Regions from separate parts of the Homo sapiens genome. Here regions 2, 3 and 4 are each linked to region 1. Evidence: promoter capture Hi-C in 16 types of primary human blood cells and fetal thymus (Javierre and others, 2016). All regions are on one chromosome and are shown on one strand. The core of a region is centred on a gene start or on the middle of the fragment in contact, and the rest is flanking DNA. Distances in the headings are between cores, read along the strand shown.

Region 1 (3,052 bases), core at 313-2,812:
AGCTGGTCAGTCCTCTCTGATTTGTAGTGTTCATTACTGGCAGGCTGAGGGAAGCTAGAGAGATTTAGGGGCCAAAGCAGTTCACAAGGTTACATCTACTCAGATAGACCTGGACAGACTAGCCTTAGGGAGACTACTATAGTATGCCAGAATGAACAGCCCTGAAGATGAGCTGGAGTTAGACAGACTTTGGAGGCCGGGTGTGGTGGCTCACACCTGTAATCTCAGCACTTTGGGAGGCCAAAAAGGGAGGATTACTTGAGCCCACGAGTTCAAGACCAGCCTAGGAAACATAGCAAGACCCCTATCTCTACAAAGAATTTAAAAATTAGTGGGGTATGGTGGCATATGCCTGTAGTCCCAGCTACTCCAGAGGCTGAGGTGGGATAACCACTTGAGCCTGGGAGGTCACGGCTGCAGTGAACCGTCGATCATGCCACTGCACTCCATCCTGGGTGACAGACCCCATCTCAAATAATAATAATATAAGACAGACTTTGGGAAGGAAAGGAGGAAGATACAAGTGGAAGCCAAGGACTCTGTTCTCACTTGTAAACTGTTTTTGATATTCAGGCTCTTGCTTGAGCCAGTTCATACTGGCTCTGGGTGGAGCGCCCATTCAGTCCTCATTACCTTTCATTAATTCCTTTCTTCATCCCATCTTTGATTTTTCTCTAGATTTAGCTCGATCACAGCACATCCAGAGCGCTGGGATGTGTCCTTCTTCACGGGGGGACCGCTCTGGGCTCTGGACTGGTGCCCAGTGCCAGAGGGGGCAGGAGCCTCGCAATATGTGGCTCTTTTCTCCAGCCCTGACATGAATGAGACACACCCACTGAGCCAGCTTCATTCGGGTCCTGGGCTGCTCCAGCTCTGGGGCCTTGGGACCTTGCAGCAAGAAAGCTGGTGAGGTGGGGTTGGACACTGCCATGGGAGGGTGGTTGAGGACAGCAGGATGGGGTCTGGACAGGATAGGGGGAAGGGCTTGGATTGGGCTGAGACAAGGGGAGCTTACCTCTGGCAGCCCTGCGTCCCTTCTTCCTACCCACCATCCCCACATGCTCTCTCTCTCCAGTCCTGGCAACAGGGCCCACTTTGTCTATGGGATTGCTTGTGACAACGGCTGCATCTGGGACCTCAAGTTCTGCCCCAGTGGAGCATGGGAACTTCCAGGCACCCCTCGGAAGGTACTTCCCAGTCAACTGTGGGATGGCCCTAGGACTCAAAGCCAGGACAAAGAGGCCCTGGGAATTCTTAGAGTTGAAGGAACGAAGGTTGGAGTGTAGTGGATGGAGTTTTTCCAGCAACTTCATACAGTATTTCAGGGACTAGAACCTCAAAGGTTTTCTGTGAGTCAGCTGAAGGCAGCAAGCCTCAGCATACCTTTTACCCTTTAGGCTCCTCTCCTGCCCCGGTTGGGTCTCTTGGCTCTGGCCTGCTCAGACGGGAAAGTACTGCTATTCAGTCTACCCCATCCGGAGGCCCTGCTGGCTCAGCAACCCCCAGGTGAGTAGCACAGCAAGGAGAATGGGGCTGCTGTAGTGGTGGTCACAGCATAGCAGGGCCTGTCTGTCTCCCTGGAAACTCCTCTGGGCCAGTCTCTCTTAGCACAAAGCCTTACTCAGCCACACACACACCCTGCATTGTGACTCAGGTTTGTTCTTGAGCCCTCTCTCTTTTGCAGTCTTACAGCTGTACTCTTTCAGCACATTTCCTTTTATCTCCCCCTTCTTCCCTCTTCTGTGCTCTCAAGACTTTCCCCCTCTTGCTGCCACAGGTAACTGGCTGTGTAAAGAGCTGCTGAGGGCTTGGGCTGATAGATAGGGCCCATCTCCCCTGCTATACTCTTGTTCCCCCAATCCTGTTCTTAGCCTCTCCTGCCCTCACCACCACACAAACACAATCTCTTGTTCTGCTGAAGAGAGGGATGGAATAGAGAGCTGAAGATGAGCAAAAGGAGGGAGGAGTCAGGAAAAGGCAGCTCCTATATGTTGAATTTATTTTTCATTAGTACTGAGTATTTAAAGAAGAGGGCACCCAGGCTGGAGCCCTGGGAAGTCCCATATGTGGTGGTCTGGTGGAGTGGGTTGAGGAGGTAATAGAAGGTCAGAAAGTAAAGATAGTAAATATAGACCATTCTTTCAAGAAGTTTGGCTGTGGGGCTGGGCATGGTGGTCCATGCCTTAATTCCAGTACTTTGCGAGGCCTAGGTGGGAGGATTGCTTGAGCCTAGGAGTTTGAGACCAGCTGGGGCAATATAATGAGATGTCGTCTCGACAAAAAAATTTTTAAAAGTAGCCGAACATAGTGGTGCATGCCTGTAATCCCAGCTACTTGGGAGGCTGAGGTGGGAGGATCACTTATGCCCAGGAGGTTGAGGCTGCAGTGAACTGAGATTGTGCCACTGCACTGTAGCCTGGGCGGCTTAGTGAGATGCTGTCTGAAAAAAAAAAAAAAATTTCGCTGTGAAGGGGAACCAGTAATTGAGGGTGGTGGATTGCCTAAGTGTGGTCAATAAAGGAAGGTTTTGTCCCTTTATTTGGATAGGAGACATTAGGGCATGTTCACATAGCAATATGGGAGTGACCTAGACTAGGGAGGGAACAAGTGGATGACACAGGAGGAAGGAGGATAACAGAATGAGCAGTGTTCTGGAAAAGGTGCTAGAGGATGAGAAGAGAGTAGAGTGAAGGGATTGCTCTTCTGATAGGAGGAAGGATACTATCAGGTGTAACAGAAGGAAAGAAGATGGGAACAGATAGAGGTAGGTTCATAAATTTGGTGATGAAAAGATAAGGACTTTCTCAATAAAGGATAAGGGAATGTCATTATTCAAAGGATTGGTTGCTGATTTAAGAGAAGGCCTGTGTCCACAGAGGAGGTCTAAAGGAAAAAAAAAAAAAGGCAAGGCCTGGCTAGGCATGGTGGCTCACACTTATAATCCCAGCATTTTGGGAGGCTGAGGCAGGAGGATTGCTTGAGCCCAGGAGTTGGAGGCTGCAGTGAGCCATGATCATGCCACTGCACTCGGGCCTGGGTGACAGAGTAAGAC
Region 2 (3,254 bases), core at 584-3,083, 300 kb after region 1:
AGCCTGGCCAACGTAGTGAAACCCCATCTCTACTAAAAATACAAAAATTAGCCAGGCGTGGTGGCAGACGCCTGTAATCCCAGCTGCTTGGGAGGCTGAGGCAGGAGACAGAGGTTGCAGTGAGCTGAGATCACACCACTGCACACCAGCCTGGGCGACAGAGGGAGACTCTAACTCAAAAAAAAAAAAAAAAAAAGAGGAAAACAGAGGACAAGACAGAAAATGAAAGATCAGTATTTCCATAGGACAGAGAATCATAACCAGTTTCTCCATCTCCTCCCTGGTGTTCCTGGGTCTTCAAGGCTTTCCTCTTACCAATCCATGTTTCCCTATAAATTTTCCATTTCCTTTCTATTCTAAGTGCAGGCATTCTGTTCCCCTGGGGTTTCCATCTTTTCCTGAACTCCTCTCAACCCTTAAAGTGTTTCAAATCCCATAGGATCTCAGCTGCCCATCCACCTCCCCCTCCTCTCATCTTCTCTAAATCTCAAGCCCCCATTCTTTCTGCGTCTCATGTCTAGGCACACTCACAGCTTTCAGTGCTTCCTCCAGGCTGCGGAAGCGGCCCTGCTTCTGGTTTTGGTTGGGAGGAGTTGCCACCTTCTTTGGCTGCTTCTTGTTCCCTGGTTTCTTAGGTTCCACAGCAGGGGGTGGGACCTGCTCCTTATTCTGCCGCTTCATGATATTCTCAAAGCCCCGCTCATAAAGGGTGCTTGTGGTCTGGATTGCAGCTGGGGTGAAGATAGGTAGAGAAAGGCAGGCCACCCTTGAGTCCCCAAGGCCTCACCTATCAGTGGTCCCTTTCCCCACACTGCCACCTAATTCATCTCCAGGGAAGAGCCTGTCTCAAAGCCCCTTCCTCTTGGACTGCTTAAGGAGCAGGGCAGGCTGTTCTCCTGGTAGCTTCTTTCATTACAGCTCTTGAGTCTATGGGCTCTTTCATAAAGATGGGGCAGTTCTTCATTAGACAAATCAGAGTATGTAGGAACAAGCAGAGAGGTTGGATATAGAGGTTTGCCTTATTCAGTGAGTGGCTACTAGTCTGGGAAGACAAGCTTTTTCCATCTTGGTCCTACCCTAACGCCTCTTGGTTCCGACATGACAACTCTATAATCAACAAGTGGCAATCTTTCTCCACTCCTCAGTGGAAGAACCAGGTGTCACTTATAATTCCTGGTGAGTGTTGAGTGTGTGGCGGTCATTTCTCCCACTGCTGGGCCTCCTGTCCCTTCCTCCATGACCTGCTGGTTACTTAAAGAGGGGGCACCGTGTATAATGATCCACAGTACCTCTTCAAAGCTCAGACACCTGCCCAGAGAGACCAGCTAGGGCCCTGGGCAGCTGGGAGAGTGTGTGCAGTGAACTGAGAGTCTGAGGACCGGAATCCTAGCCCCTCTGACACATGACCCTGGCCAAGGTATCCAACTTCACTGGGCCTCAGTTTACTCATCTGGGAGGTGAGGACCGCAACCTTCCCTGGAGCTGTCTGCCTCCCGTGAGGCTCCAAAGAGACAACGCAAGCGTGGCGCTCGGGGATGTGCCTGCGAGCTCGCGCCCAGGTTCTGGGAGCCGCTCGCTGCGACCCTGCCGGACAGGCCTGGGGTAGGCGGCGGGGCAGGGCGGGTACTCACGGGTCAGGTCGTATTTCCACACTCCGTTTGCTTCCCCGAGCGCCCTGCGGTTCCTGCCGCCTCCTCGGCCGCCGGCGCCGGCGCCGACCCCAGGCCGCCGACCCTTCTTCACTACCTCCCACCGCCCCACGCCCGCCGTCTTGGTCGCCATGGCTCGCAGCCCTCCCTCCTCGGCCACTTCCCCGGCTTTCCGGTCCGGCGCGAGCGCGCCGCACTCTGCCACGTCTCCTCGCAGGACCGCGCGCCCGGCGCCCGGCGCCCGCCGCAAGGCAGCCTGGGACTTGTAGTCCCTCTCCTGGGCCGGGCTCTCCTGAGCGAAGAGCATCGGGAAGAGGCTTCCGCGGCAGCCTGCGGCCCCCGCCCAGGCGAAGAGGCCGGGAGGAGAGGAGATTCCCTTCTGAGAACGTTCATTGAGCGTCGATGTGAAGGCCACGGCATTGAGAGACTTGGTAGAACTGTTTCTGTTTTTCTTTCCTTTATTGATCAATTGATTGATTGATTGCCAGGGCCGCGCTCTGTCGCCCAGACTGGAGTGCAGTAGCGCGATCTCAGCTCACTGTAACTTCCGCCACCCAGGTTCAAGCGACTCTCGTGCCTCAGCGTCCCGAGTAGCAGGGACTACAGGCTCCCGCTGCCAAGCCCAGCTAATTTTTGTATTTTTAGTAGAGACGGGGTTTCGCCATGTTGGCTAGGCTGGTCTCGAACTCCTGACCTAAAGTGACCCACCCCACCCCCACCCCTCAGCCTCCCAAAGTGCTGGGATTACAGGCGTGAGCCACGGCGCCCGGCCACTGTTTTTCTTTCCTTTCTCGTAGAGCTGGAAGGATGGAAGGGAAGTAGTGCTCCTCATATCTAGGGAGAGATTGAAGATTAAATGCTTCCTTCCTTCTAGGAAAGTGCTGGCTTTACTGTTGCTAGTGATTAAACCTCGGGTTTAATGGGCTATACAAATCTATTGCCAAAGAACAAGGAAGAGGATGGGGGCTTGAGGAAAGGGCAGAGTGTTGGGGAGCTGGGGTAGGAGGTGGAGAATGGAGAATAATTTTTTTTTTTTTTTTTGAGACAGGATCTTGCTTTGTCGCCCAGGCTGGAGTTCAGTGGCGCGATCACGACTCACTGCAGCCTCAACTTCTAGGGCTCAGGTGATCCCCCACCACGGATCACCTGACCCACCACCACCCCCGGCTAATCTTTGGTATTTTTTGTAGAGACTGGGTTTTGCTGTGTTGCCCAGGCTGATCTCAAACTCCTGGGCTCAGTGATCCACCCTCTTCAGCCTCCCAAAGTGCTGGGATTACAGGAGTGAGCCACCGCTCCTGGCCTCTGAGTTCTTCTCATGGGAGGCTGAGAAAAGTCTGGGGGTCTGGGACAGCCAGGGCCGGGTTTCCCCTTCCAGGCAATGAGAAAGAACAGGCTCTGCCTCCCACCATAAGAGTCAATCCCAAGTTCCAGATGTGTCAGGGAAGCGATGGAGAGCCCCAGACTTGAGGCATCTGCAGACAGGTTCCTGCTCAGACATCCACGTGGAGGGTGTTAGTATCCTGGGAGCCTTCAGAACCTTGAAGCATGCCAGCAGAGGAGAATGAGGGAAGATAAAATCAAAGTGACTTATCACAATTAAGG
Region 3 (3,177 bases), core at 676-3,175, 280 kb after region 1:
AACCTTTGTGCCCAGGCTGTTTATTGCAAACGGATTTGGAGCTGTTCCCTAAACTACCGCCAATTTGGGGGCCCTCTTCCATTATGAGGGGCAAAGTGTGTCCTTTCTTTCTGGCTGGTGCCATGAAGGAATTCTCCTAGCAGGAAAGGGGTTTGAATCCCTTCTGTAACCTACAGATCTACTTTTTTTTTTTTTTGAGACGGCATCTTGATCTATTGCCCAGGCTGTAGTACAGTGGCGTGTGATCTCGGCTGACTGCAACCTCTGCCTCCCGGGTTCAAGTGATTCTCCTGCCTCAGCCTCCTGAGCAGCTGGGACTATAGGCATGTGCCACTATGCCCAGTTAATTTTTGTATTTTTAGTAGAGATGGGGTTTCACCATATTGGCCAGGCTGGTCTTGAACTCCTGACCTCAGGTGATCCGCCTGCCTTGGCCTCCCAAAGTGCTGGGATTATAGGCATGAGCCACCGCACCTGGCCAGCTCTTTCTATTAGGATAATGGGAATCATCAAGACCACTACAGTCAGGGTGCTTTTGAGCCCAGAAACTAATAAATCCAATAGAATGAGAAAGACAAGCCCAGAGGCAAAGAATCTGACTCAGAGGTGCTAGGGGATTCTCTGTGATGTGGGGTCAGATATAGTGCCTGTTCATCCTTTCAATACTATTACAGTTGTAGTTATGCTCCTGTTAACTGAGGAAAATAATCATAGTGGTGAGACGGCCATAGTGATGAATATCTCTTCAAAGGACCTTAGAGTCAGGCACTAAGAGTGAAGGCCTTTCCAGACTGTAAGGTTTCTCCCTTTTCCCACTTACACCATGTATTCATACCTGCTCAAATAGTTCCACAGTGTATCTGGAGGGGAAAGCCGGCGGGGGAGGGGGGCTGGCACGCCCATTGTCATGGCAGGCAGCAGGGATGCTGTTTACTGAGCGTCCAGTGTTGTAGTTGCATTCAAGTGTGTAGCTAAGACATAAAGACCTTTATCAGTGTCCCGCCTGAACAGATACCAGGACAGAACCATAGAGGACAACTTAGGTGGTCAAAGGAGGCAATCACTTGGAAAAAAGTGAACACAAATGAAAGTGCTAATAATCCATAGCAACTAGCAGCTGACCTTGGTACTGTACCATATACCCAGAGAGTCCCCCCAAGGTAGAGTCCTAGACTAAAGACAATAATGCTAATTGTGAGGTTCTCTTTTAAGAAGACTAAGGTGGTTCCCTCCCTCTCAAACACCCTGAACTGGGTGTTGTTTTTTGTTTTTTTTTTGAGACGGAGTTTCGCTCTTGTTGCCCAGGCTGGAGTGCAATGGCACGATCTCGGCTCGCCACAACCTCTGCCTCCCAGGTTCAAGCGATTCTCCTGCCTCAGCCTCCTCAGTAGCTGGGATTACAAGCATGCACCACCACACCCAGCTACGGTGTTTTCTTTAGGGAAGCTATTTCATCAACTATATCTCAGCTTCCACCCAACCTGTGGATTATCCCTGAGGCTTTGTAGATTGCAACACGGCCGCTTCCCTCTTTAGACTGGCCATCTCTACGGTCTCGGGCATACATATTCTTCTCTGAGAAATTGCAGCCCTGGAAGTCGAAGTGGGCTGAATTCAAGGAGATGAGCTTTGGATATAGCATGTTTTCCACCTGTTTGGGGAAGAAAAGTCAACTCAGAAGGAGAGACAGAAGGGACAAGGTGCAAGGAAGAGATAGCAAGTATGTGACCATGTGACTTAATACACAGCAGATACCATCACAACCATTAACAGTAATCAGTGCTGCCTGAATTCTCAGTTTGACATTACTTCTAGGTGTTGGGAAGCAATTCTTTTTTTTTTAAGCTTTTAGCTTCCTCCCTCCAACAATGCAAAATTTTCCTTCTCTGGATTCCCAGACTCTAGCAGACTATAATGCAGTTAGCTTTCCTTAATAAAAGGTCATGATGTAACAATTGAGACATTATCCCCCTGTGCCATCTCTTCTTGGCCCTTCAAAGCTTTTTCAGAGGTAGTCTACACAGGCCTTCCTTCCAGAAAGCTACCTAAGGCTATCTTCCTTCTGTTCATGGCCTAACCCCATCTCCTAACCTGTAACACTTCTCACACTCACATGACATTCTTAGGATTCCCACCTGGGTGCTCTCATCACTAAAGCTGTTTCCGTACATGAAGCAGCCCCTTTTGGAAGCATGTCCATGCAGGTCCACATAGTAAGCAACGCCACTCTCTTTGGGGGGGATGGTATCAGGGGCTGACTCTTCAAGCCCCGCAGACTGTTGTGGCATAATCCACACACTGTTGAGCTTCTGTTCTGCTGGCTCTGTTTGTTTCCAGGCTTCAGCGTTATGCCTGTCAGCTGAGTGCCCACACTGAGCTTCATTTTGGAGATTGTTGGCTTTCTCCAGGTCAGAAACAGGAGCATCAGGAGGGAGACAGGAACTGGGCTGGTGCTCAGAGGAACTCTGGGAGTTCAGACGAGAGTGCACATGGTGGTAGAGAAGCACAGCTTTGGCCCCATAGATGGCCGGGTGCAGGACGGCATCAGGCTTCAGGTACTGACGGTTCAGATTCACTCCACGTGAGTCTGTGCTGTAGGAAAACAAGGACTGAAGCAGGTTCTAGAGGACTGGGCCAGTGAAGGAGACACTAGTGTAGATGAAAAGGAGACCGTAGGAGACTGACTTATCAAATGAGAGGCTGAAGCTATGTTAGGAAAGAAAGAATTGAAGACAGGGCCTCTCTTTGATCTGCTGTCACCCTTACCATAGAACCCTAAGGAGCTTCCTCAGGGTAGCTGCCTCCACCCAGATGGGCCTGCAGTCATCCTAGTTTGGTTCCTTTCTGGGAGTGCCACTAGATATGATCTCATGCTTTCTCAGGAAGATGAGATGGGCTTGCCTTTATTAGGGTGCAAGAGGACTGGGAACACAGAAGCCAGAAGGCTGACAGAATTTCACTGAGATGCAGGGCATGAGGGGAAATGGGAACAGTCCAGACAGGCTGGGGAAGCCACTTACCGGTAGTGTCCCCGGACCACACCATCGGGGTTCAACATGGGAATCAGCTTAAAGACGAAGAGGCGACGGAGGGTTTGGGCCCGGGGATCATCAGGTCGGAGGATGAAGTCCAGAAAGCCATTGAAGACAAAGCTAGATGGAGTCTCCCCTGGGTGTA
Region 4 (3,453 bases), core at 302-2,801, 380 kb after region 1:
GGAACAATGAGGTCTACGAGGCAAACTGAAAAAGCTTAGAAAAGCATTTGCAGGCCTTCCCCACCCTGTGGCATCCCCGGCTACTGAGACTCATCAAGCCTCCAAGAGCTGTGTGAAGACGCTGGGCTTGTCATGCAAACCCCTAAGTCACCACCCACTGTGGAAGGACCCATCTTCCGCATCTCTTACAATGCCATGTCTTGTCTTTCAGCAATGGAAAAATTTTTAACTCCTGGACAGGCACAGTAATAGCCCAATGAATGTATAGGTATACAGAAAGTGACCATGTAATTTATTATACAAACCAGGACATGTTTGACAGTGAAAGTGGACACTGTTAATAATTATTCTGGGGCAATAGACTTAAACCAGGATTGCCCTGAGCAAACCAAGACATCTGGTCCCTCTAGTTCTAAATGTATGGTTGTAAATCCAGAAGGGAAAGTAAAGAACTCACTTTCCATCATAAGACAGTACCCAGTGTCAGCAAAATGCCAGATCCTTTACTGTTCTACTGGGAAAGCTCTAAGAGCCCTTTCAAATGTCTGTTGTTACAACACTGTCAAATAGCCTGTTATTAACTTAGGACTCTAAGGTCTACCAGCCCCTACATATCATGAGGTTTCTTCTTCACACCTGGGTGTCATGAGACCCTGTGTCTTCCACTGACTAAAAAGCAATTTTTTTTTTTTTTTTGAGACAGTCTCGCTTTGTCGCCCAGGCTGGAGTGCAGTGGTGTGATCCCACCGCCACGCTCGGCTAATTTTTTGTATTTTAATAGAGACTGGGTTTCACTGTGTTGCGCAGGCTGGTCTTGAACTCCTGAGCTCAGGCAATCCTCCCGCCTTGGCCTCCCAAAGTGCTAGGATTACAGGCGTGAGCCACTGTGACTGGCCGACCACAATGCAATTCTTAGCGTTAGTCTCTACCGGTGTACAGAGGTCAGTCTGTAATTCTGAGTTAGAAAATAGAGGCTGGTGGCTGCCTAGCTGCTGACTGGTGTGGTTTCTCCAAATCCGGATTCTCATAAATGATCAAGCCTTATTTTAAAGTCTGAGTCTGTGGTCTTTGATTTTTCTACAACTACATACATAAAAAGGCACCCTATGTCTTCCTGGGTATCTTTTATTTTTTCCCTGTAGACTGCCTGATAGACGCCTTGTGCCAAATGTGTGGTCATATTATTTTTTTCATCCAAACCCAATGGATTTTTGGCAGTTAACCCAATTCTGGTGTGCTCTCCTGTTGTGGGAAAACAGGGTAACAGACACTTTGGCCCAATACATTGCAGGGACTCGGCATCCATCTCAAGCTGGCAAATCCATCTCAACCTTCGAATTTTAATGTTAAGAAATAAGTACAGTGACCACATAGTACTAGAAGCCACAGTTTATTTTTATTTTTATTTTTTTTGAGACAGAGCTTCACTCTTGTTGCCCAGGCTGGAGTGTAATGGCGCGATCTTGGCTCACTGCAACCTCCGCCTCCCGGGTTCAAGCGATTCTCCTGCCTCAGCCTCCTGAGTACCTGGGATTACAGGCATGCACCACCACACCTGGCTAATTTTGTATTTTTTTTAGTAGAGACGGGGTTTCTCCATGTTGGTCAGGCTGGTCTGAAACTCCTGACCTTAGGTGATCCACCCGCTTCGGCCTCCCAAAGTGCTGGGATCACAGGCATGAGCCACAGCACCCGGCCTTAGAAGCCACAGTTTTACCCTTTAGTGTGAAAGAGTTTAATCAGATAATCCTCCTAACATCTGACTGAGCTCTAGAGGGAAGGTAGAGGGGTCTCAATGCAATGGATGGGGTTGAGACTACAGAGGGCCAACTCCAAAAGCGGGGTTCTAGACAGCCGGAGAGCAGCTGGAAGGTCCTTCAAAGGCATATTGGCCTTGGGACAGCGCTTTGTCTTGTGATTTTTTTTTTTTATGAGGCCATCGTTCCATCAGCCAAACGTTCTGCCGAGTGGAGAGGTGGCTATGGGCTTCCAAAATGGTAGCCAAGAGAATACGCGACTATAGGTAGATGGAGTGAGTCTAGTTTTTTTCCCTTTTGCATCTAATTCTTCCTCCTAATTATTTCAGATAATTTGGCAACCTTGTCCCTGGAAATCTGGCACCACTGGGGCTCCTGTCTCTCAGAATTAAAAAAAAAAAAAAATCCAGTCTCTGCACAAGCCTCCCAGTGAGCTGCCACCCAATAGGAGAGACAGATCAAAGCTGCCTTTTCTTAGCAACTGAAGCCTTGCCCAGCCACCGTAGAAGAGATCTCTGCCAAACTCCCTCCTCTTTGAAGAAACACAACAGAGTCCAAGTGAGAAGTAGCTACAGTTTAATACAAACCTGCACCAGAACACAACGTGTCGGGCTGTTTAGTTTTTGCCTCAAACGGTGGCCAAAGCACAGGACCATGTGTCGTCTTGGGGTTGACACAGTCTTAGCACCATGACATTTACAGGGGAGTGGGGAAGTCACCTGGGTGCTGGGGTGCTGGAGGCTCCATCCGACCCCAGGCTGTGCCTGCGCCTCAGCAGCTGGAGGGGGTTTGGGTTTCCTTGTGGTTCTGTGGCTTCTGGGTCAGTATCAGAAAAGCCCTCATCACGACATCGGCTTGACAGAGACCTACTGTGGACTCCTAGCACTACACACACGCACGCACACGCACACACAGTAGCACAATTTTCTGGCAACTTAACCCCACAAACCTAGAGAGCAGCTAAGGCAAGAACAACAGTATTTATTCAGCAAGTACAAGACCAGTTTGAGAGCTGCATTCAGTGCAACCAGAGACCCTTTCGTTCCAACCAGGAGCCAGTGGGGCTGGTGACGAAGCTGGCTGGAGCTCTGCACGGGGCAAGGAGTGCATGGTGGGGGCTGACCGCTCATTTGGCTCCTTGAATCTCTTTCTGATTTCTATCTAGAAGCTCCCGGGCAAGGGTAGGGCCTATGTAGGGACTGGGGGTGGATGAAGCGCATGGCCTACAGTGGACCACTCCAAGACGTGGTTCCCTGGTGCCACGGGTCACACATCTCTCAGGCGGAGGCACTCAGAGAAGGTAAAGCTTTCCTAGCCCAAGCAAGGATGCTCTGCCCAGCTGGCCACCACCGCTGCTGCTGGGCTCTTTGACATCTGCCCAAGGCCCATGACCCAGTGAGGGCTGACAGGGATAGAGATGGTGTGCACTGCACCAGGAGGCGGCGTCATGGTTTCCCCCATCCCTGGTGGCTTTCCCAGGCCTGGGTCCTCACCCCTGTTCCAATGGCTGCCACTTGCCATGAGCCCCTTCGCCACCTCTGCTCCCCGGCTGACCACCTCTGTCCTCTCAGCCCCTGAGTGAGGAAAGGGGGAGTGAAGGGAGAAGTGAGGGTGTGGACGCAGCTCACACTGCACGGTTAGCCCCCAATGGGTGACTAGTCTTGGCTCAAACACAGAATGTGCATGAGGTTGTTTA

The links. The method cuts DNA at HindIII sites, captures the fragments that hold promoters and counts their contacts. A CHiCAGO score of 5 or more calls a contact.
Region 2: the fragment with the promoter of TMEM214 here is called in contact with the fragment with the promoter of GTF3C2-AS1 in region 1 in 5 of 17 cell types (naive B cells, non-activated CD4 T cells, total B cells and 2 more); the score reaches 7.2 in naive B cells.
Region 3: a contact is called between a fragment that was not itself captured here and the fragment with the promoter of GTF3C2-AS1 in region 1, in 1 of 17 cell types (naive B cells). The highest score is 5.0, in naive B cells.
Region 4: a fragment that was not itself captured here is called in contact with the fragment with the promoter of GTF3C2-AS1 in region 1 in 1 of 17 cell types (naive B cells); the score reaches 5.0 in naive B cells.

What each region holds. Positions count from the first base shown.
Region 1 is chr2:27,334,052-27,337,103 of GRCh38, reverse strand. It overlaps GTF3C2-AS1 (GTF3C2 antisense RNA 1), which reads right to left and starts at 1,562. Exons shown (of 4, transcript NR_038427.1): 1 at 1,384-1,562; 2 at 634-812. GTF3C2 (general transcription factor IIIC subunit 2) reads left to right here. Exons shown (of 19, transcript NM_001035521.3): 8 at 679-906; 9 at 1,076-1,187; 10 at 1,398-1,506. The HindIII fragment of the contact is 18,359 bases long and covers 1-3,052 here.
Region 2 is chr2:27,031,544-27,034,797 of GRCh38, reverse strand. It overlaps TMEM214 (transmembrane protein 214), which reads right to left and starts at 1,833. Exons shown (of 17, transcript NM_017727.5): 1 at 1,632-1,833; 2 at 532-731. The coding sequence starts at 1,782. RefSeq lists an enhancer at 1,921-2,210. The HindIII fragment of the contact is 3,121 bases long and covers 1,058-3,254 here.
Region 3 is chr2:27,055,097-27,058,273 of GRCh38, reverse strand. AGBL5 (AGBL carboxypeptidase 5) reads right to left here. Exons shown (of 15, transcript NM_021831.6): 6 at 3,021-3,177; 7 at 2,136-2,592; 8 at 1,482-1,651; 9 at 836-971. Among named protein-coding and RNA genes, the nearest start is that of AGBL5, 5.0 kb to the right of the region's middle. The HindIII fragment of the contact is 155 bases long and covers 1,848-2,002 here.
Region 4 is chr2:26,949,215-26,952,667 of GRCh38, reverse strand. It overlaps DPYSL5 (dihydropyrimidinase like 5), which reads right to left. Exons shown (of 13, transcript NM_020134.4): 13 at 2,317-3,453. LOC124905979 (a long non-coding RNA gene) reads left to right here. Exons shown (of 3, transcript XR_007086251.1): 3 at 2,087-2,153. Among named protein-coding and RNA genes, the nearest start is that of MAPRE3, 20 kb to the left of the region's middle. RefSeq lists an enhancer at 2,599-3,099. The HindIII fragment of the contact is 3,029 bases long and covers 37-3,065 here.